2 separate regions of the Homo sapiens genome follow, and region 2 is linked to region 1. The links are contacts of gene promoters, found by promoter capture Hi-C in blood cells and fetal thymus (Javierre and others, 2016). All regions are on one chromosome and are shown on one strand. The core of a region is centred on a gene start or on the middle of the fragment in contact, and the rest is flanking DNA. Distances in the headings are between cores, read along the strand shown.

Region 1 (3,048 bases), core at 275-2,774:
TCTTTTATTGCACAGTATCTTGACAATCAAAACAGAGAAACAATATAACTTTAAATAAGATTCAAAGCACTGACTTCCAATTACCCACAAGCAGAACCCTTCTTAAAATGCAACATTCATTCTGCATGGATGGGCAATGAATTGGACAAAACAAGCTCGACTGATGTTTCTGGGACCATAGAGGAGACATCCTGGAGGAGAACACATTTTTTCTACTTGTATGTCAGAAGATGAGCTAACCACCATGCAAGAGAATAGAAACAAGCCAGCTTCCTCTCGGAGGGAAAAATAAAGCAACTCCTCGCTCGGCTAAGCAGGACAAAGCCAGGACGTGCAAGAAGCCTTCAGTCAAAGGCTCCACGTGCCTTTCCAAGGACGGAGGGACCCACCCACACACAATCACACACAGCCAGCCCACCACGCGCCTGCGGAAGAAAGCCGGGTCCTCGGCCAACCTTCAGCACCAGTGGCCCAGGCTCTCCCAGTTTGCAAACCTCCCGCAGCACCCACCAACTGGAGGGCACAGAGGGAGCAGAGGGCCACATCCTCTTTCCAAGTCTCATCTTCCTCGCCAATGCCTGTTTCTCCCCAACTATGAAGTGAAGTGTACCTCCCCAAGGAAACTGAGACTTACAGGCACACACACCCCAGTCGTCAATAAGTCCCGGAGCCCTACGATCAAGACCAGCGAGTCTTTCCCCGGGACCCCACAACCGGGTTCCCGGAATGACGGGGAGGCGCCGCACTCACCCAGTCCTCGAAGTGGCGGCTCCCGTTCTGCAGCAGCTCCTCAAACTGGATGGTGCAGTTGGCCACGAAGTCGTCGTAGCCTATGGGGGCATCGTGAAAGACAGCCAGCTCGATCTTGCGTCCGTTGCACACATCGGTGACGAACTCGTCGTGCCAGGCCGGGCTGTTGGTCTTCTGCTTGGTGGCCGTTTGGCCGATGCGCGAGTCGTCCACATTGAGGGCAATGTAGGGGTCGAGAAGGAAAGTCTGCGGCCGGGGTCCCACCGCATGGCGCAGCGACCAGGCTGTGGGCTTCAAGCTCACGGCCTCGCAGATTTTGATCTTAAGAAGGCCATTGAACACTACCATGGTCGGGGCGGGGAGTGGGGGCCGGGGTCACTCCGTCTGCCCCGAGGGCAGGAATGAAGAACCGACGGCCCGGCACTCCGAGCCACAGGGACTCTTGGGTCCCCTTTCGCCCCACCCCGCACACTCCCTACACCTTGTGGCGTTGCGCCCTGGCGCGGGCGATTCTCAGCCAGTGCATGTATTTCCTCGCCGGGTTCCTAACGGAAAACAGGGAGGGGGGAGAGCTGGGGGATGTCCGTGTTTGGAGCAAGTCTCTCCCCCCGACCACCAGCTGCACCTCCAGAAGAGAAGACGAGCTGTCGGCTCCGCTGCAAGCCGCGGGGGCTGCCTCGCCGCCTCGCTGGCTCTCCGGCTCCGGACTGCGGGAAAGCGGGCGCCGCGCCCGGCGCTTACCTACCTTTCCGAAACATAATCCCGGGAAATTTCGACTCCGGGAGGGGGATGGGGCGGTGGGACGGGGCGGGGACGAGAACCGGGGGCGCAGATTTCAACCCGGATCCTCTTCGCACACTCAGCGCCTGCCTCTGACCGCGCGGGGCGGGGGGGTGAACGGAGGGATGTTCAGTCTATCCGGAGGGATGCATGTCGAGAGGAAATGGTCCTCCTCGGAGCCAAATTTTTAAAAATCCACAAGCCCCACGGCCAGCCGGGGCCGCCGCCTCCTGGGCGAAGCAGCGCCGCGCCGGAGCCGGCGATCGGGAGGCGCCAGGAGCCCGGAATCTCACATCCGCGCGGGCTCGGAGTCCGGGCGGCCGCCGATCCGGCTCGGGGGCGCAGGCCAGCACCGGGCGGTGCGCAGCGCGGCGGCGGGGCAGGGACTGCGACTCAGCGCGGCCCCACCTCCTGGGCGCCGGCGCCCGCCCTCCGCGCTCCCCGCGTCCCCGCTCTCGGCTGCCGCTCGCTCGCCGCCCGCCAGCCCGCGCTCCCCCGCGGTCTCCTCTCCCTCTGTCGGTGTGCGAGCGAGTCTCCCTCCCTCTAATGCAGGAAATGCGCAAAAGACGTCAGTGTGTGTGAGTGTGTGTGTGTGAGTGTGTGTGTGTGCACGCGCGCGCGCGCACGGCAGTGTTTGGGGAAATAGAAAGTTTTGCCGGTTGGGGGAGCAATACGGAAAAAGTGAGCCGAGGAGACAACGGTGGAGAGCTGGCGAGGCTGCCCGGGGTCGCAGCGGCGGGCGGGTCAGCCGGGGGGCGGGGACCCCGCGCGGGACCCCGGGGTGCGGCGGCGCTGGGCTGGATGCGCGTGCCGGGGGCCGTGGATGGCCATGGATGGGCCCCGCCGGGCCGCGTATCTCTCGGGGACCCTGCGGCCAACACTGTCTTTTAGAGCCGGGGATGGGGGAGTGGAGGGGGCCCTGTTGCCCTAGAGGCCTCGGGACCCTTCCCTTGCCCACCCCCACTCGGGCCGCGGCGGGCAGGAGCAGTCTGCGGAGTTCTGGCCCATCTGTCACTCTGTCCCGGGACGCTGTGATCCACGGCGGTGGGGGAGGGGGAAGGGGGAGGGACAAGCATGGCTCGGGTGAAGTTTTAAACTCTGTTCTTCTCTCTTGCCTTTCTTTGGGGACATTCTCCCCTTTGGGATCTGTCCTGGACTTCGCAGGCTGCGAGAACTTGTTGACAAGTGAAAGCTCGGTAGAGCCCCGGCTTGGTTTGTGGTCTGCTTATTTTTTGCAAAGTGACTGTTCCTGTTTGCGCTGGTCCTTATCGGTGCCCCTTTGGGGGACTTCGGCACTGATCAGCGCGCTGACAGCCGCCGTCCGGGCTGCGGGAAAATGGGGCGCGCCCTCCGGGGGGCGAGTGGCTGTGTCCTTGCTAATTTCCTCCGTAACCTTTAAACTCTCGCTGGAAGCTACCGCCGCGGCTGGTCACGTGAGGAGAGCCCTGGGCTGCTGGGGAAAAATTTCCTCGGCTGGGAGCCGGGACCGGGCCGGCGGCCGGCGAGGGACTGCCCCGC
Region 2 (3,048 bases), core at 146-2,645, 320 kb before region 1:
CCAAAGTGATGCTATTTGGAGATGGGACCTTTGGGAGGTAATTAGGTTTAGATGAGGTCGTGAGGGTTGAGCCTCCATGATGGGATTAGTGTCCTTATAAGAGGAGGAAGAGACCTGAGTGAGTGAGCTCTCTGTCATGTGAGCAAGGAAGAGGGCCCTCAGCAGATCCCACCCATACTGGCTCCCTGATCTTGGATGTCCACCTTCCAAAACTGTGAGAAGTGAATGTCTGTTGGTTAAGACACCCAGTCTTTGGTATTTTGTTATTGCAGTCTGAGCTGATTAAGACAAGGATGACCATGATAAATGTTTATCGTGGGCTTACGCTCTGGCAAGTGCTATGCTAAGTGTGTTATATCTTAGTGATACAATACATCTCAATGAACCCTCGAAACAACTCCACTTGAAGGGTACTGCTATTAGCCCCATTTTACAGGTATGCAAAGCGAAGAATAGAGTTTAAGTAACCTACTCCTGTTAACACAGCTACTCAGTGGGGAAGCCCAGATTCTAACCCAGAGAGTGAGAAAGAGGCCATTGTTCCTCCACCCACACGCTGCTCTGAAGGACGGCCTGCACTCCTTACAGAAAGTCCCCAAGCTCTCATCTGAGTGGCTTTCATCACCAAAGAGTCCAGCTGCCTGTGGCTTCCCCAAGAACACAGTGGGCAGGCTTTGGGCTTCTTCCTAGGTTTCTGACACCTTCTAGAAGGTCTCCTAGAAGGTCCCCTGCACAGGTCAGCTTAAAATGCACTGGAAGGCTCTGTGCCCCCAAATATCTCCAGGCATCAGCGAGTGCCTGACATCTCACCATAACAGGGCCAGTCTTCAGGGGAAGAAGCATTGATCCCTCCTGGACCTCTCTGAATGTAAGGTTCCCTGAAGTGGAGGTCATATGTATGACCTGAACAACAGATTAATCCAAGGGCATCTTGTTATTGGAGGGTAGGGTAGAGGGAAGGTAAAATTGAAGGAGGTAAAAGGTGAGAACAGGACCAAATGCGCAGCGTGTGCTTCCAAGGACGCAGCAGCCTCTGAGCAAACAGGCAGCTGTTTATTGGAAATCTGCCCTCAGCGTTCCCAGACTGCATCTTCAACACAGGCTCAGATGACCCGGGTGGAGGTCTGCTTGTGGATCCCCTTGCTTCTTGACCCCTAGCCCACCTGGGTTTCAATTGGTGCTTATTGTTTCAAAAAGTCTCTGGCATCACCGACCTTCTGGGTACAGAAAGCTCACCACCTCCTACCCTGCTCCAACCTAGGGGTCTTGACCTGCTGACCAAATTCTCACGGGAGGACCCAGGTCTGTTCTAGTATAGAGACAGCAACACACACAGCTGCAGAAGTATGGCAATCACCATTCGGTGCTGCCATCATAGGCAAGTTTTTGTTTCGCTTCATACTTTCACAATGTGTAGAATGTTCTACTATTTTCATAAGCAAGAACAAAAATATGACAACCAAAAACCAAATCTATTCAGTAGCCCTTACTTGCTACAAACTTACCTACAAAAATCCAATCCAGAAACATCATCCTGGGCATCATAGGACACAGGATGCAGGTTATTTTCGTAAAAGAGCACCCTTAACTCCTTTCACAGGATTCACCACGGAATACATTTGAACAGTAAGCCCGTCTCCTAATGCATTTAAGATGCAATTTGATTTACAAATCTCTCAAATTGACTAGTTGTTTTCATCCTGGGAAACTATTTTCAGTTAAAATGGTGATGGGTCCAATCTAATTTTCTCAAAGGAACACTGTTATGACGGTGGTTACAGTCCTTCCTAAGAGTCTTATTTCCCAACTTTTTACAGAAATGACGAGCAATGAAACCAATCGTTCTAAACTGTGTTGACATCAATCCAATAGGGCAATATGGCAACCAATTAATTTGACTCTATTCATTTCAAAGCTGTCTCAGCGGGGTGCCCTGATACCTGGAGGGAAGCTGTTTAAAGTTGGCAGGGGTGTGGAGGGGGAGTCTCAGGCACAGGCTAGGCAGACAGCCAAGGATAACTCCTGTAAGTCAGAGTTCTAAGTTCAACTTCCTCCAAGGTTTCTATTACTATTGCCCCAAAGGAGCATCTGCACTGCCTTTTAAGTCAGATTTGATGTCAGATATGGAAAAACAGAAGGTCACAGGAGGGAAAGAACATGGGTAAACTTCATGCTTCAAGTGAGGCTTGTGTGCAAAGCTACAAAGCAGGTGACAGGAGAAAGGGGTTGGAGCCTGTGGCTGCTGAAAACACCCCAATTCCACATTCCTCTGGGCAGGAAAGCCACGGGTCAGGCCAGAGTATCCTCAGCACTGTCACCCACAGGTGGAGAAGAAAGTGGCCTATACAATGTGAAAAGGGGAGCTACTAGGTCCCTCAGTCCCCAAGAACCTCCCTACTGGGGCCTGGAGTCCACCACCAGAAACGGATCCCTTCAGCATTTCCCTCCGCTATGAAAGGTCTCTTCCAAAATGTAGATCCCACATATGTATTAACTTAATTCTGGGCTCTCTATTTTGTTCCACTCGTCTATATGTCTGTTTTTATGCCAGTACCACACTGTTTTAATTGCTGAATTTTTGTAATATATTTTGAAATCAGGAAATGTGATGCTTCCATCTTTGTTCTTTTAACTCAGAATTGCTTTGGCTGTTCAGTCTTTCATGGTTCCATATGACTTTTAGGATTGTTTTTTCTGTCTTTATTGAAAAATGCCTTTGAGAATTTGATAGGAACCATATTAAAGTTGCAGTTCCTTTTAACAAAACATTAATTCTTTTATGGGCATTTTAACAAACATTAATTCTTCCAAGCCAAGAAGAGTCAACTGATCTTCAACAAGAGTGCCAAGAATATACAATGGAAAAAGGATATTCTCTTCAATAAATGATGTTGGGAAAACTGTACATCCAATGCAAAAGAATGAAACTGGATCCTTACCTTTTACCATACACAAAAATCAACTAAACGTGGATTGAATACTTAAATGTAAACACTGAAACCATAAAGCTCCTAGAAGAAAACATAGGGGAAAACTTTCTTGACATTG

The links. Contacts are between HindIII fragments. The CHiCAGO score rates a contact against its expected background, and 5 or more counts as called.
Region 2: a contact is called between a fragment that was not itself captured here and the fragment with the promoter of PRKCE in region 1, in 1 of 17 cell types (total B cells). The highest score is 5.2, in total B cells.

What each region holds. Positions count from the first base shown.
Region 1 is chr2:45,650,151-45,653,198 of GRCh38, reverse strand. PRKCE (protein kinase C epsilon) reads right to left here and starts at 1,524. Exons shown (of 15, transcript NM_005400.3): 1 at 751-1,524. The coding sequence starts at 1,098. LOC102724965 (a long non-coding RNA gene) reads left to right here and starts at 1,984. Exons shown (of 2, transcript XR_005647119.2): 1 at 1,984-3,048. RefSeq lists enhancers at 846-1,466, 1,955-2,249 and silencers at 1,625-2,094, 2,265-2,364, 2,995-3,048. The HindIII fragment of the contact is 7,889 bases long and covers 1-3,048 here.
Region 2 is chr2:45,972,542-45,975,589 of GRCh38, reverse strand. The region is part of intron 2 of PRKCE (protein kinase C epsilon); the gene reads right to left. Among named protein-coding and RNA genes, the nearest start is that of PRKCE-AS1, 300 kb to the right of the region's middle. RefSeq lists enhancers at 586-635, 1,597-2,146. The HindIII fragment of the contact is 3,479 bases long and covers 1-3,048 here.